Regions from separate parts of the Homo sapiens genome. Here region 2 is linked to region 1. The links are contacts of gene promoters, found by promoter capture Hi-C in human tissues and cell types (Jung and others, 2019). All regions are on one chromosome and are shown on one strand. The core of a region is centred on a gene start or on the middle of the fragment in contact, and the rest is flanking DNA. Distances in the headings are between cores, read along the strand shown. Region 1 holds the start of ALOX15 (arachidonate 15-lipoxygenase). Region 2 has its middle 3.9 kb from the start of MED11.

Region 1 (2,718 bases), core at 99-2,598:
GCAGAGGTGGCGAGGCCGCTGGAGGTTTGAAATGGCTTTTAAAATAGAGAAACCGGGAGGACCGACGACCGCTCCGGCGACCGCAGTTTCCAGGCACCAGAGCTGTGTGGAATGAGGGGCGCTCAGGAGCATCCCCTTAATTCCAAGGAGATCGAGTAGCGGGAACATTTATTGAGCCTTTACTGTGTGTCACCAACTGCCCACCATAGGGAGGAAAAAAGGGAGGAGGGAGCGCGCCTTTCCACCTTCCGTGCCCCGTCCCCTCACCATGGAGTCGCGGGGCCACCTGCTCCGTGCGCATTTTCTCTCTTCCTGGCTCCCTTTGCCCCGCTTTCTCGGAAGCTCGGAGCAAGGGCGTGGAGTGCGGGGAGCAGGGCTCCGCAGGTTCAAGAGGACGCGGGCGGTCGGGGGCGGGACGGATATTGGGCAGGGACGCGGGAGATGCTCAGGGTCTAGAACTGACTGCGCCGGATTCTTGTTTAGAGGGAGGTGAAGAGAGGAAGGAGGCGCGGGTGACACCGGGGGAGGCAGGAGGAGAGGGCTGGGAGGTGGGGAGAGGGGAGGACCTCATCCGGGCATGTTGCTTTGACGTTCCCTGAGACAGACATCCGGATTTGGGGATCTGGGAGAGAGCTAGAGCAGTGATGGGAATTTGGGCTTTCGCGGAAGAAAAAAAGTTAACAGGACCGGGTAGAACACCCGGTAGATGTGACATGAGATATGACGGGAGGTGGGTCGGGAAATCGAGAGCGTTCTCCTGTCTTGACTCCCCATCCCTTCCCTCTCACCACCCACTCCACCCCAGGTGATAAAGCCTGAAAGGTAGAGATCCAACAGCGCTAGCGGTTGAAACGGTTTTTAAAATAGAGAAAGCGAGAGGACCGACGGCGGCTCCAGTGACTGCTGAGTTTCCAGACAAGGGAGCTTTGTGCAATGAGGGGCGCACAGGAGCATGCCCTCAATTCCAAGGAGATCGGGTAGCGGCAACATTTATTGAGCGCTTACTGTGTGCCACCGACTGCCCTAAAGCCCCCCACCCCCGTGGCCTCCGCGCGCTTTGAGCCCAATGCGCGGGCCCTTGGCAAAGAGAATCGGCCAGAGGCCAACGGGGGCGCATGTCCTCCCCGGTATTTGACTGACTCGGAGCCAGGGGCGCAGCCCACCCCGCCCGGCTCTGGGGAGCTCACCTTGCCCCGTGCGGGCCACAGTCGCTTCCCGAGCGCCGCCTCCCCGTGCTGGCCGACCAGCCACAGCTGCACCTGGTTGTTGGAACCGGCATAGAGCGAGGCCCCAGTGGACACGCGGATGCGGTAGAGACCCATCTTGCTCAAAGATGTTTCGCTCCTTCTGGTGGAGAAGGGTGGACGAGCTAAATAACCCAGCCTGAGACCCCGCCCTCTCGGAGGTCGCTTGGGGTCGGAATGTGGGTGGCAGGTCTCCAATCAACTCCGCCTACCGCTGGGGCCCCCAGCTCCAAGGAGCAGAGCTTCAAGGGGCAGAATTCAGCCCCAGTCCAAAAGGCGGTGTCCTGGCGAGAGCAGGGAGTGGAAACCACTATCTTGACGGGAGGGAGAAAAAGAAAAGGATTTGGACCGAAAACACGCAGGAAGAGGGAATCAACGCCTGGTACAGCAGGCAGGCGAGGTGGGGGTAGGAGTTATGCACGTGTGTACCACGGACTTTGGGCCAAGCCTGGGTGGCTGGGAAGCCAACCTCCATCTAAACGCACGCGTGCACACACACACACACGCAAGGACACGCGCGCGCACACACAAGCCTCACAAGTTGGATTGCAGGAGAGGGTGAAGTGGGCGAGGAGACCCAGTTTGCAGTGGCATTTGAGGAAGGTACATTCAGGCCACGGAATTCATTCGACCAGCTTTGCACACTTGCCTTCTCTGTGCCAGCCACTGGGACTCATTCCTTTTGAGCATAAAAGCCGCTGCCTCCCTGTTGCCTGCAGAATAAAAGTCCAAATGTTTCTGGCATTCAATGCCCTTGCTAACCTGACCTGCTCTCCTCACCTCTCATCCCACTGCACCCTGGCATCTCCTGTGCTGGAGCCATGTGTTCCCCGGAACCCCCCCTCCCCCCGCCGCCCCTGCTGTTCTCTCAAAGAACTCACTTCTGGGTTAGTCTGGTCATGCTTCTAAACCCTAATTCGTCTCCAGTTTCTTTTTGGGCTGGAGCCATGTGTTCCCCAGAACCCCACCTGCTGTTCTCTCAAAAGAACTTGCTCCTGGATTAGTCTATTCATCTATTCATGCTTCTAAACCCTAGTTCACCTCCGGTTTCTCAGGAAAGTCTTACCCGGTACTTTCACCCCCCACCACCCCACCAGAGTGAATTAGCTTTCCTTTTTTTTTTTTTTTTGAGATATAGAGTCTCACTCTGTCACCCTGGAATGCAGGGTGGAGTGCAATGGCACGATCTCGGCTCACGGCAACCTCTGCCTCCCGGGCTCAAGCAATTCTCTGCCTCAGCCTTCCGAGTAGCTGGGATTACAGGCGCCTGCCACCATGCCTGGATAATTTTTGTATTTTTAGTAGAGACGGGGTTTCTCCATGTTGGCCACGCTGGTCTTGAACTCCTGACCTTGTGATCCACCCACCTCAGTCTCCCAAAGTGCTGGAATTACAGGTGTGAGCCACGGCGCCCGGCCCAGCTTTCCTTTCTAACACTTTTCTCCTTGCGCACACTTCTACTGTTGCACAGTTA
Region 2 (2,718 bases), core at 219-2,718, 86 kb after region 1:
TCTCCTCTACACTTACGTCTCTTTTTTATTTCCTCTCTTCTTTGGTTTTGTTTTGTTTTGTTTTTTGAGACAGATTTTCGCTCTTGTCACCCAGGCTGGAGTGCAATGGTGAGATCTCAGCTCACTGTAACCTCCGCCTCCTGGGTTCAAGTGATTCTCCAGCTTCAGCCTCCTGAGTAGCTTGGATTACAGGCACCCACCACCATACCCAGCTAATTTTTGTATTTTTAGTAGATACAGGGTTTCACCATGTTGGCCAGGCTGGTCTCGAACTCTTGACCTCATGATCCGCCCGCCTCGGACTCCCAAAGTGCTGGGATTACAGGCATGAGCTACTGCACCCAGCCCTCTCTCACTCTTCATTCTTTCTTTACTTTTTGTTTTCAAAGTTATATATACATATAAAGAATCAGATAGTACTACAAGACCTATTACAATAAAAAGCAGACCCTTCCCACTCTAATTTCCTCCTCCTCAGAGGCAACTACTTTCACCACCTTTTTTTTGAGACAGGGTCTTGCTCTGTCACCCTTGGCATGATCACAGCTTACTGCAGCCTCCTCGATGCCCCAGGCTGAAGAGATCCTCCCACCTCAGCCTCCCAAGTAACTGGGACTACAGGTGCAAGCCACCATGCCCAGCTAGTTTTTTTAACTTTTTTGATTATTTTATTAATTTGTTTTTTTGAGACAGAGTCTCACTCTGTCGCCAAGGCTGGAGTGCAGTGGCACTGTGTCGGCTCACTGCAACCTCCGTCTGCTAGGTTCAAGCAATTCTCCTGCCTCAGCCTCCCGAGTAGCTGGGATTACAGGTGTCCACCACCATGCCCAGCTAGTTTTTATATTTTTAGTAGAGACGGGGTTTCACCATGTTGGCCAGGTTGGTCTTGAACTCCTGACCTCAGGTGATCCACCCACCGTGGCTTCCCAAAGTGTTGGGATGACAGGCGTGAGCCACCGCGCCCGGCCAGTTTTTTTATTTTTTGTAGAGATGGAGTATCCTCACGTTGCTCAGGCTACACCTGGCCTACTTTCACCACCTTTAGATGTTTATTTTGGCATTTACCTCCCTATCTCTAAACATGCTTATTTGGCAACTTCATGATTTTTGTTTTTGTTTGTTTTTTTTGTTTTGAGAGAGGGTCACGCTCTGTCGCCCAGGCTGGAGTGCAATGGTGCAATCTCAGCTCACTGCAACCTCCGCCTCCCATGTTCAAGCGATTCTCTTGTCTCAGCCTCCTGAGTAGCTGGGACTACAGATGCGTGCCACCACGCCCAGCTAATTTTTGTATTTTTAGTAGAGATGGGGTTTCACCATGTTGGCCAGGATGGTTTCCAACTCCCAACCTCAGGTGATCCGCCAGTCCCGGCCTCCCAAAGTGCTGGGATTATAGGCATGAGCCACCACACCTGGCTTGTGTGACAGATTTTTTTCATTACTTCCCTCATGGTTTGATTTTTCAAGGGTGTTTTGTTTGTTTGTTTGTTTTGTTTTTGAGATGGAGTCTTGCTCCAAATTGCAGTGTTACTGATACCTTCTAGTCTTCTGAAAATAATGTTTGTGGAGGAAGGGATCAAGAAATGTAGCACCATCATTTAAATTCCCTCAGGACCAACCCTACTGGACACATAAACAATAGCAACAACATCTACTTTCAATAAAATGTTGGCATTGCTCTCTGCCAATTACCTTGAGAGCCTGACTCTGGAATGAAAAGCTCTATACCGACCCTGGCCTTGAACTCCTGACCTCAAGTGATCCTCCCGCCTCGACCTCCAAAAGTGCTGGGATTGCAGGCATAAGCCACCATGCCCAGCCAAGGATGCTTTTTCGGATTCAATCATGTTTTATACTATCTCTTACCTAAAAGCTTCAACAGTTGTCCCCACCTCCCCCTTTTTATTTTGGTTTCTGTCTTTCATGTTAGAAAGTTTCTTTACATACCTAGAAATTTTTGCTTTCTGCTCACATTTAAGAGCGGGTGCTTAGCTTGACATGGTGGCTCACATCTGCAGTCCCAGCTACTCAGGAGGCTGAGACAGGAAGATCACTTGAGCCCAGGAGTTCAGGACTACAATGACCTATGATTGCGCCACTGCACTCTAGCCTGGGTGACACAGAGAGGCCCTATCTCAAGAAACTAAAAAAAAAAAAAAAAGAGTGAGGTGCCAAGAAGTTGACTAGAATTTCCATGTACACAGTTGGGACTTGCCAACTGTGAGTTTCAGTATGAGGTGATCTGGCCAACTGACTGGTTGGAGAACCCCTGACGTTCACATCGTAAGGTCTTTTCTCACTTACCAAATTCCCCAGAGAAGAGTCTTCCAGTCTCTTACCTGGAAAGTATAAGCCTTGTGCTGGAGTTCTGGAAACTACCACTCACTATATAAACTTTCGTTTTTGTTTTTGTTTTTTCTTGGATACAGGGTCTCACTCTGTCACCCAGGCTGGAGAGCAGAGGCGTGATGAGGACTCCCTGCAGTCTCAACTCCCAGGCTCAAGCAATCCTCCCACCTCAGGCCCCTCCAAGTGGCTGGGACTATTTTTATACTTTTTGTAGAGTTAGGGTCCCACTATGTTGCCCAGGCTGGTCTAAAACTCGTGGGCTCAAGTGATCCTCCTGCCTTGGCCTCCAAAAGCGCTAGAATTACAGGCATGAGCCAACTCACCTGGCCCTAAACTTTCACTTAATCTCTGTTTTTCTTTTTTGGAGACTGA

What was found. Contacts are between HindIII fragments. The study calls those that stand out against the background at their distance.
Region 2: a fragment that was not itself captured here is called in contact with the fragment with the promoter of ALOX15 in region 1 in 4 of the 25 tissues and cell types used here (H1 embryonic stem cells, IMR-90 fibroblasts, dorsolateral prefrontal cortex and 1 more).

Annotation. Positions count from the first base shown.
Region 1 is chr17:4,640,330-4,643,047 of GRCh38, forward strand. It overlaps ALOX15 (arachidonate 15-lipoxygenase), which reads right to left and starts at 1,349. Exons shown (of 14, transcript NM_001140.5): 1 at 1,188-1,349. The coding sequence starts at 1,322. The HindIII fragment of the contact is 22,491 bases long and covers 1-2,718 here.
Region 2 is chr17:4,726,132-4,728,849 of GRCh38, forward strand. No RefSeq gene overlaps it. Among named protein-coding and RNA genes, the nearest start is that of MED11, 3.9 kb to the right of the region's middle. The HindIII fragment of the contact is 5,027 bases long and covers 1-2,718 here.